2 separate regions of the Homo sapiens genome follow, and region 2 is linked to region 1. The links are contacts of gene promoters, found by promoter capture Hi-C in human tissues and cell types (Jung and others, 2019). All regions are on one chromosome and are shown on one strand. The core of a region is centred on a gene start or on the middle of the fragment in contact, and the rest is flanking DNA. Distances in the headings are between cores, read along the strand shown. Region 1 holds the start of TMEM200C (transmembrane protein 200C). Region 2 overlaps LOC121725015 (a long non-coding RNA gene).

Region 1 (5,896 bases), core at 2,304-4,803:
TCATTTTGTTTTTTATTGGCAGAGGTATGAAAAGGGTAAGGAAGGAATGAAGAGAAGGAGTTATTTTGTATCCTGTTTTTGATCTGGGGTTGACCGTTTCTGTCTTCTTATATAGAGATGTCATACCAAGGTTTGAAGGTCCTTTCTATGAAATCTTCCAACTTCTGGTCTGAAGAATGTCTCTTGGTTGTGTTTTTGCAAATTTCTAATTTGACTACAGTGTGTCATGAGTTTGAAATCTGAGTTATTGAGCAAATTGAAATTAAAGGGTCCCGGTTAATTGCAAAATGAGCAAAGTTGCAATGGAGAAAAGTGTTTTCATTCTCATATGGAGCAAGCTTTCTGGAGTGGCATTGGACCTATGTCATCTGGGTAGGGGTAGTTCAATCACAGCAGCTGATCCTGTAAGCCTACTTCAGAGATAATAAGTACAGATACAGTTCCATGTGGATCCCAGAAAATATGAATGGAACAGGAGAGTGAGGGTATCAAGCTGGGAGATGTTAGGACCAATAAGGTGATAGCTAAGTTTAATGAGTGCTTACTACGTGCTAAGCATTAGCCTACACTGACTACACTCTTTTAATCTTTACTACAATGCTATGAATAAGGTATCAGTGTCATTATCCCCATTACAGATGGGGAAATTGAGGCAGACAAGATTAAGTAATTTAGTTAGTGGAGGAGATAAACTGGCTCCAGAACTCACAACACTAAACTACTTATTTCTGCAGCCTGCACTATCTGTGAGAGAAAGGTGTGTGCAGAGGCAGGAGGTGCTGAGCTGTTGGTATAAGCAGACTTCCCTTCTCTGGCACACTCCTGGAGACCAAGAAGGTCCTGTGTGTGCCCATGACGCTGTCTTCCCCTACGCAGCCCTGGGAGCACAGGCAGGCGAGTCAAGCACACCAGGCTAGGTTGGTGAAATGATCCAGGAAGTAAATGAGTTGTGAATAAATTATGAGACTGAATAAATTATATAAGGATTTTTTTTTAAGATAGAGCAAATGAAAGGTTGCAGGTCAGAATTTAATCCAACTAAACTAAGCTAATCTTCATCCTCTTCTCTTACTTTCCCAGGGCCTTCATTATGTTCCCTGCTACAAGGTCAGAAGGCTGTGCTGAGCTCCAAAATCTGGAGACACTAGTGAATTATTAAGACTAGGTAGTTGTAGCCTTTCAGTCCTTAGCACGGTGAAAGTGGGGTCCCACAGTCTCGGAAATCATCCAAACTGAAATGGCCAGGGAGATTAGAAGGAAAATAACGCCAGAAGGGCCAAGAGTATCCTTGTTCCTTTAAAAATAACTCTAATAACTTGAAAGCCCCTGGGAATGTATGTTGATTCTGTATTACAGAGGGGATAACGGACTCCGCTGGAAACAGATGTGATCTGCTTGATTTCCTCTGATACCATGAGCTGAAAACAAAGAAAACTACTGAACGTGATAACATTCAGGTTAAACAGTTCAAAGTTCCAAAAAGCGCAGTTTGGAAGGAAGCCTTTGAGTAATAAGCCATAAATTTTGTTGCAATCATCAACATAAGACAAAACTAGCTATGTCCCAAGGCCCTTTGTCTAGAAAAGAATTCTTTTCTTCTCCAAATCCCTCAAATGAGTTTTAAATGTGCAAATGATGGCTATAATTTACACAGAAACTTGAAACTATTAGCAGTTTAATCCACCTAAAATCCTAATGAAGTTCTGCAGTATTATTCCTGTTTGTACAGCCCAGCAAACAGAGCACAGGAACTGCCGCCCATAGACTCTGGCAGCTAGCTGTGCAATGAAATGAGACTGTAGGCCCAATCTTTGTAAAAAATACCAGATTATTATTGGGATTCAGGAGATCTGGAAGTTCAGAGCCAAAAAGGCTTTAGAAAACGACAACTAGATCTTATTATTTTTCCTTTGCAGTGATTTCTCTAAAAGGAAACAACCCAATGTGGGATTTAAAACTTTCCCTTCATTATGGTTTGTTTTCTAATAGCCTGAATCTGAGCATGAATAGGTAGGGGGAAGGCGGTGGGTTCCGGACACCCTGATCATCATTCAGATTCGTTATTTGCTTGAAAAGGGTGACAGAGGCCACCTTTCCAACAGGTGAATGCAGGGTTGCCTTTTAGAAAACACTTCTGCTTCGTTCCCTCCTGTCCCCCACCGTCTCTATCCCCATCTCTTAGATCACTGTTCACATTTATATCATTGAACTTGTAAATTGGTTGTCTTTATTGTTCTTTTTGAAAAGTGTCTGCTCTAGATTTAAGCACAAGTGAATGCTGTGTATGTGGGGAACAATCTTGTAACAGGAGCTGCGGGCAGCAGAGCCCTCCTGTGTGGGTTTTGTGGACCCCTAAGCAGCAAAACTCAGAATATATAACACCCACCACCACCAAAATATTTATCTGGATCCAAAATTTCAGACAGCACTTGCTTCATCTGCTCTTCTGTTCCTTTCTTCCTGAATCCTGGCTGCCTCATTTCAATAGATAAATGAAATCTTTCTCACTTTCTCAATACTCTTTGGGGAAATTCCACTTTGAAATTCTCTTTTCCCTGTCATTTTTACTTTACAGTTGAGAAGACAGGGATGAACTAGGAAACAGGATCTCGATCTCTTTCTCTCTCTCTCTCGCCTTCTCTCTTTTTTAAATGACGTAGGGAGTTTGGACATCCTCCCTACCCCCACCTCCCCTCTCTGATTCCAACCCTGATTCCTGATTCCTGGAGAATTATAGTTTTCCTTTTAATGCTTGCTGATTACCGCACCGGGGAGGAGCAGGAGGGGCTGCCCAAGGAAGAGCCCCGGAGCCCATTCTGATCTCCGAGGAGCCCCAGCTGCCGGGTCCCGGTCAGGCTGGTCACAAAGCCCGGCGGGGCTGGAGCGCGAGCGCATCTGGCAGAGGCTTCCAAGCGTCCCGCGGTGCGCCCGTCCCGGCGGGGGCGGCTCCACTCCGCCCGGGCCCGAGTTCGCTGGGGGACAACTTACTGTGCTTGCCGAGCGTCCACACTGCAAACTCCCAAGCGGGAGGGGGAAGAGAGCCCAGGCTGCGCCGTGCCGAGGAGTAGAGGCAACAAAAGACCGAGGCACGAGGGGAGGGAGGCAGGCACGGAGGGACCGCGGACTCTGGCCCCTAGCTCCCCGAGAGCGCCCCTCGGATGCTGCTGGGGAGACCCTCCGGGCCTCTCTTTGGGGCCTCTGGGGCCCGCGGCTCAGACAGGTAGTTGGAGGAAAGAAGAACAAAGCTGCCCGCGGAGGCAGGCGGCGGTCTCGGGGCGCCCCGGGGCGGGGAGAGCCGAGGCCGAGGAGGCACCCCGCGCCCCCTGCCCCGCGGCCCGAGCGCCCCGTGCCGGCTGCCTCCGCCGCCTCCCCTCACGCCTCCTCCTCCCCGAGGAATCGGCGCTTCCGAAGGGACGGGCGGCGGGCGGCGGAGGACGCGGGGGAGCGGGGAAGGCCGGCGGCGTGGGGGGGGGCGCCGGAGGAGGGGGTGGGGCGGGGGGCGGGGGCGGGGGCGCCCCCCGACTCCGCCGAGCCGGGCGGGCCCCGACCGCCACCCTGCCGCAATTTCCCTGTGTCATGGCTCCGGTCTCTTAGCAACAGCCGCCAGTCCGGCCGCCCCGAGCCGCCGCCGCGGGCTCAACTCCACCCGGCGGAGCCCGGCGCGCCGCAGCCACACAAAAGAGGCGCGAGGGCCGGCGGCGCGGCCGCAGGGGCCCGCCCGGGAGCGCCGCGCTAGGGGACGCCGGGAGCTGGAGGATGAGCGGCGGAGAGGAGGGCTCCGAGGCGGGATGCGGGATGCGGGATGCGGAGGACCTGACACTTCTTGGAAACTCTTGGAAATGGCTCCCGCCACAGCGCCGGCGGGGACTGCGAGCCTGGGGCGGGCGCTCGCCCCCGCGGGGCTGCTGAGTCGCGCTCGGATGCGGGGCCCCGGGGCGCTGTCCCTGCGCTCCGCCGTCGGCTCGGGCTGAAAAAGTTTCTCCATGGTTCCTTTGTGTCGCCCGAGCGCCCGTTCGCCGGCCCCGACCTCCCTCGGTCTCCCTGGGTAAGTGAGCGATCTTGCGTGCGGAGAGTGCTGCCATTTTGAGCAATTCTGCCAGTCCCCAGCCCTTGGGGGCCCCTCCCCGCCCCTCGGGTCCCCGAGTCCCCGCGCCCCGGGCTGGTGTTCGGTGAGAGGCTTTTTCCCGGGCTGGCTACACGGGATGCGCTGCCCAGAAAAAGCTAGTTCAGGATTGCCCTCACTTGGCTCCTGCCTGTCTTCTTTCCAGAGGCGGACTCCCAGCTGCTGCACTCATGTGACTCCAGCTAACATCAATAAGCAGACCAAAGCCAGGGGCCAGGGGGTCGCCGCCCTGCCAGTGAGGGGCCGGGGTCGAGGACCTGGGTTGGGTACCGGGCACAGCACAGCGCTCCCAGCCTGTGGGATCCGAGCCTCCGAGCCTCAGAGTGGGGCTTAATCCATCTTGAGCGGAGAACTTGAATGTCTCTCTTGGAAGCAGTTGTATTTTTAGACATCCCTCCTTTGCTTCCCCCATCCTCCATTCTTTAACCACGGTAAGACCAGCTCCAGGCAGTAAATTGCGAGGGCAGCCAAGCTTGACTGCTAAGTTTGTTTTCTTTCATTAGGTATAAAGGAAAACCTCAAAGGTGGGTCTCCCGTGGCATCTGACCTTTGTCTGTATTTCGTGTCAGATGATGATACATTAAAAGGGAGTACAGCCTTCAACAGAGCTGAAGGAATAATAAACGAGGGAGTTAATTACTAGCTATTAAACTCATTTTAAAGATGTGCGGTAAAGGACTGTTGAAATCCATTCCAACCTTCCTTACATTCTACCGGAGCCAAAGCTGCCTTGCTGAGGAGAAATCCAAGTGGGTTTCCTCCTCCCCCAAGGCATCCAGCCTCCCGGCGCACCTGATCAATGCCCAACAAAACATGTAGCCTTTCTGCGGTGGGAGAGCCACCCTGCCAACTGAGTCTGAGTTCGCTTCTAAAAAATGTCTGGTCCTTAAAGCCTTCTTAAGATAACCACGGATCTCCAGATTATTTAAGATGCTGGACTCCAAGGATCACTTAAAACAACAGTCTCTATGTTACAACCACATAATAAATGTGCTTACTTATTTGGGATTAGAGATAGACAGTAAGCTCTTTTTTTTGTTTGTTTCAATCTGTACTTACTGGTGCAGCTTAAAGGTTTATAGATGTATTCTCTATACTGACCCCTCTCTTATCTACCTGGTGCTTCTCTTTACTGAAACCCAGCTAAGTCCCAAAGAGATATTGATTTGCAAATATTGCAAAGAGCTGATTACCATTTACATTCCCACTGATGGAGAAAAGATCCTGCCTATATTGATATAATGGAGGAACTCAAGGGCCAAAGCCTTTCACCCAATCACCAATTAAAAGCAAAATTCTACCTACCACACATTTTCAAGGGGGAATTTATTCTAAAACATGAATTATCTGATAAAGGATAGAAGAGCAAAAGGCTTGGGCGTGATATCTAAGTCTTTCAGTTCATACAATGTCCTTGATTTTAGCATCTCATAGGAGGGAAAACAACTAATGGGACAGAAAATGTTCTACTCTGGAGATACAGCAAGACTGTAATTTTTAGAGGCTGCCGAATAACTACAAATATGCATTTGTGAATTTTCCTACCCAGGCTTTTACAAACAACTAAATAAACTTCCTAAGAGTAGTCCATTGATTGTTGCCACCCTCCCTTCCTAAAAATGACCTCATGAGAAAGGGATAAGGGGGAAAAACAAAACAAAACAAAACAGTTTTGGCTTGGGGGAAATGTCATTCTACAAATCATCATATTATGTAGACTGCTTTACCTAGTTAGTTGCCTACTCATTTGAATACTGGGACTCTGTAGCATGC
Region 2 (5,049 bases), core at 20-2,519, 44 kb before region 1:
AAGAGGCAAAAAGGGATGCATGTTGTGTTTTCACAGCAGAAGAGATGGGAAGGCCAGGCCAGGCTATTGTCTGAAACTATTGTGTGTGTGTGTGTGTGTGTGTGTGTGTGTGACAAGGTCTCACGCTGTTGCCTAGGCCGAAGTGCGGTGGTGCAATCATAGCTCACTGCAGCCTCAACCTCCTGGGCTCAAGTGATCCTCCTGCCTCAGCTTCCAAAGTAGCTGAGACTACAGGTGCACCGCACCATGCCCAGCTAATGTTTTACTTTTAATAGAGATAGGGTCTCATTATGTTGCCCAGGCTAGTTTTGAAATCCTAGGCTCAATGATCCTCTCATCTCAGCCTGTCAAAGTACTGGGATTACATGCATAAGCCACTGCACCTGGCCTGAAGCTTCTTTTATAAAGAGGCCTCGTGACTTACTCACTTCCCGAAAGTCTCTACCTCTTAATACCACCACAATGGGCATTAAGTGTCAACATGAATTTTGGAGGGACACAAATAGTCAAACCATCACCCTTGCCCAGCAAAATCACCCTGAACCATGCATTTATGGTGTACAGAGAGAGTCAAGAAAGAGTGGGGATGGTGCAGTCCAAACCCTTGTGCTCGTTGGGGAACAAAAAGTGCACAGTTGATGAATAGTCCAATGTTTGGTTACAGGAAAGACATCCAGGTTTATTCCTTTATTGCACAACATTGATTGAGGGCTCAGGATGTGTTAGTTGTGGTGTTATGCTCTGTGAGGTAGCATGTCCATTGTCAAGTGATCAGGCCCTGGGTCAGCCTTCTTTCAGCCTCCTGGATGCCTACACATCCGGGGTCACATCCAACTGGGCACTCCTCTCGTGGTTCTTCCTTAACACAACCTCTTCAAGCTCCTCCCCTAGATGACACCATGTTGAGCTCAGCTGCAGCAGCAGTGAATTATACAGGGTGGGTGCTCACTGAACAATTTCTAAATGACTGAGTGAAGAAGTGAAGACAGCTGTGTCCTGGATGCCTCCACTGAGACCAAAGGTATCTTGGGGCTTTTGAGAACAACTTCAGTGGCCTCTATGCTCCTGCCTTTTCCCTCTCACAGGAAACTCACATGGCTGAGCCTCTGGATCCTGGCTTTGAGAACTGCTTCTCAGAGCTTCTCATCTGCAGATTGCATCCCCTGCCAGCCAAGGGCCCCGAAGTCTGTCTTTAAGGAGCTGAACATCTGGTTAATCATGGGCCCAAGAAGCAGGTGCATGGCCCACAGCTGCAAGATCATGTGGCTGCTGAGGGCCTGAAGTCGCAAGTCTAGCTCCATCTATGTGCCCACCGCCTTCCCAGAACAGCACTCCTCCTTGCTTCTCTGGGCCTGCATCGGTTGGCAATGGGCAGTCTGAAAGCAAAAGCCCATGATGGTTTTCAGCCACAGGATCTCAGCAAGGCTTTCTTCCCACCATGGCATGGCTGGTTTTCTGAGCCCGCTAGGCTTTCTGCAAACAGTGCTTCAGTAAAACCTAGGATGCAAGCAGAGGCCGTGCTGTCCCCCCAGGGAGTCTCCTCTTCCCCAAGGGGCTCAAACTGTTGCTGCTCACTTTTCTATTAAGACTCTATAATCCAATGAGAGATTTTATAACATAAAGTTAGGAAATAATTCTATATGTTACAAGCAGTAATAAAATTAATACTGTGAAAATGTGTTTGCCTTAAATATAACTGCAAAGAGGTTATGATATAGAAATATGTCTTCAAAATTAATAACATCATGGTTAATCTAACAGACTATCAGGCAATGGACATAAATAACGTAAGCAAAATTACACATAGCCATAAGAGGAAATATTTACTATTACTAGTAATCAAATAAATGTCAAAGGTTCAAATAATAAAACACCATATATATGTATAAATATATATAAATATATATGTATTATATATATATATATATATTTTTTTTTTTTTGAGACAGAGTCTTGCTCTGTTACCAAGGCTAGAGTGCAGTGGCGCGACCTCGGCTCACTGCAACCTCTGTCTCCCAGGTTCAAGTGATTCTTCTGTCTCAGTTTCCTGAGTAGCTGGGACTACAGGCATGCACCACCATGCCGGGCTAATTTTTGTATTTTAGTAAATACAAAATACAAAATACATGGTTTCACCATGTTAGCCAGGCTGGTCTCGAACTCCTGACCTCAGGCAATCAGCCCGCCTCGGCCTCCCAAAGTGCTGGGATTCCAGGAGTGAGCCACCGTGCTTGGCTAAAACACCGTATTTTGATGCTGAAACATTTGTCAAATGATGCAAAGGCTATGAGGCCAGTGGACAGGGAGGCAGACACACTCACACTCCATCCTCTGGCCCTTAGAAGGACACACTTCTTGAAAGACTTGTTGAACTCTTTGTCTTTCTTTCCTGACCCCAATAACACAAGTCAACACCTAGCATGATGGCGCCTTCCTCCACCTTTCCTAGCATCTGTGCTACCAAAAATGACCACTGAGCACCTTCTTAAATCCAATGGAGACTTTTCCACTATCATTTGAAGTGATTTGTCAACCACAGTGTCACTGATATCCAACTCTGTACTTTTATACCTTCACACCATGGACTTCTGTGGCCTCACTGCAGCCCTCCTCCTGGGCTGACTGCTCCTTTGTAAGCTTCCCGGCCTTTGTCCGTGTCTGCTGGCCTCCCTGGCTCTGTGTCAACTCATAGGGCCATCTCAGTGGCCTGTATGGTGGGATGTATCTGAGGCAGGTGCTGCAGGAGGGCTGTCCCTTTGGCGACCCTTCCAACAAAATAATCTGTAACTAATTGCTCAACCTGTATTCAAGACCAAAGCTTGCAAAGCTTCCCAGAAAAGCCAATGCCCCTAGAGCTGATCAGACACCCTCCCCAGAGGAAGACTTTTGATTCTCTGTCCTTGATGGTCTCACCGCCTCACCCCAAATGACAGACCAGAACATTTCTCCCTGAGGGAAGGTCTTGAGAACATAATTGTCTCTTATTGGTGCTTTTTAGCCCCCTTTCTAGGTTAGGTGCCGGGTCACAGTTGCTGGCCTGCTCCTCGCTCCATCTCAGTTCAGATCAATGACTCCCAACATATTGTCTTCATCCTGTAGTTCCCCCTGCCCCCTAGCTCCAGACCTGTAGCTATAAGAGCTCACTGCCTCCCCTTGAATTTCCCCTTCAAATGTGGTAGATTCAAAGTGAAACAAACTCAACTCACCAAGCACCTGCTCTCTGCACACCTCCAGCCATCTCCTGTGCCTGTGTGCCCTCTCTGCCTGCCTGGGGCCACCACCCACCCAGTCATACACATAGGACAAGCTCAAGAGCCCTCCAACTCACTTAGTCACTTCCCCCAAATCAGATGTGACTGAATCCTATCGATTTTGCTTCCTAAATAGCCTGGGAACAGCCCCTCTCCACTCTGGCTGCCATTTTCCTATGGAAATGACAGTGTTTCTCACCTAGATTACTTTCACCACCTCCCACATAGCCTCCCTGCCTCCAGCCTTCTCCCTTCTTGGATATGCACCAAAGTGACCTTTATCTAATACCCAGGGTTAATCACTTCCCACTCCTACTGAGAACATTTCAATGGCTCCTTATTGCCCCCCAGTTTCTCAAATGCCTTAGATCAGTGGTCACCAACCATTTTGGCACAAGGGACCAGTTTCATGGAAGACAATTTTGCTACAGACCAGGGGTTGCGGGGAGATAGTTTCGGGATGAAACTATTCCACCTCAGATCATCAGGCATTACATTCTCATAAGGAGCATGCGCCCTAGATCCCCTGTGTGCACAGTTCACAATAGTGTTTGCGCATCTGTGAGAGTCTAATGCCACTGCTGATCTGACAGGAGGCAGAGGTCAGGCGGCAATGCTCGCTCATCTGCTGCTCACCTCCTGCTGTGGGCCCTGTTCCTAATAGGCCACAAACTGGTACTGATCTGTGTCTCGGGGGTTGGGGACCCCTGCCTTAGATGATACTAATAATATGGCCTAGTTTGTCTCTGCAAACTCCTCTCTCTAACACCTTACTATTCAGTATTATTGTGCTCCTTTCAGTAACTTGAATTCCCCTATACTTTCTCTCAAAAATCCTTGTACATCCCCTTTGGACAGACTGCCCGGGCACCCTGTCTCCTCCTGCTCCCCTCGGCTCCTGCATACTCTCCTCAGGCCTCAGCCTGGATGTCCTTTCTTCAGCAGCATCAGAGCCCCCCGTTTCAGGGGCAGGCATTCTAGTTCTTCTGCTAGTGCTGTCTGACAACACCAGGGGCTTCACACATCTCGCACCCAAATGAAACACCCTATTGTAAGTGCTTCTAAACTTTCTCTGTTTCCTGCAGACCTATGAGCTACAGAGGTCAAGCAGTCCTGCCTCTTTCCTCTCTAGCTACAGGGCCCAGGACCCTGTATAGTCTGGGCATTACCATCAACCCACATTCACTAAGATAAAGAAAGGAATACACTATGAACTTCTAAAATGTACACGCCCTAAGAATCTGTCCAAGAAAGTCATTAGAAATATGGACCAAAGTTTTCTGTACAAATATGTTTAAAAGTCATTTATAATAGAAACATACTGGTAATAACATAAATGTAAAACAGAAAAAGAACATCCAAGTGAATGAGATGCATCTATGTAGAAAAATGCTGTAAGTAACCAGTATAATATTATCTGTCGCAAAATAGGGAAAATATTAGGATGCACAGTTGTATACGACAATTTAGTAATATTTTACATCTGTATAGGAAAAGACAGGAAAGGAACAAGCCAAAATATGAATAGGTTTTACTTGTAAGTAATGCGATCGTGGATCATTTTCTTTTTTTTTTTCTATGCACTTTTCTGTATTTCCCGAACTTTCTTAATTGAACTTTGATAAGCAATACTTTTCTAATTGCAATTACGCATGTGTGCATGCTCATGAGCACACACAGGCACGTGTCCTTGGACTTCACAGCATCTAAAGATCAGACTCAATGGGCAGGGCTTTGGGTCCCTCTTTGAGAGTGACTGTGCTGGGGACAAGCTGTGAGGTTCTAGAAGGATGTGCCC

The links. The method cuts DNA at HindIII sites, captures the fragments that hold promoters and counts their contacts. A contact is called where the count stands out against the background at its distance.
Region 2: a fragment that was not itself captured here is called in contact with the fragment with the promoter of TMEM200C in region 1 in 4 of the 25 tissues and cell types used here (IMR-90 fibroblasts, bladder, neural progenitor cells and 1 more).

The regions. Positions count from the first base shown.
Region 1 is chr18:5,893,179-5,899,074 of GRCh38, reverse strand. It overlaps TMEM200C (transmembrane protein 200C), which reads left to right and starts at 3,553. Exons shown (of 2, transcript NM_001395400.1): 1 at 3,553-4,045. The region is part of intron 9 of MIR3976HG (MIR3976 host gene); the gene reads right to left. It overlaps LOC121725015 (a long non-coding RNA gene), which reads right to left and starts at 3,348. Exons shown (of 3, transcript NR_172505.1): 1 at 2,989-3,348. The HindIII fragment of the contact is 12,914 bases long and covers 1-5,896 here.
Region 2 is chr18:5,936,144-5,941,192 of GRCh38, reverse strand. All of the region lies in intron 1 of LOC121725015 (a long non-coding RNA gene), which reads right to left. Among named protein-coding and RNA genes, the nearest start is that of TMEM200C, 43 kb to the right of the region's middle. The HindIII fragment of the contact is 5,747 bases long and covers 1-4,142 here.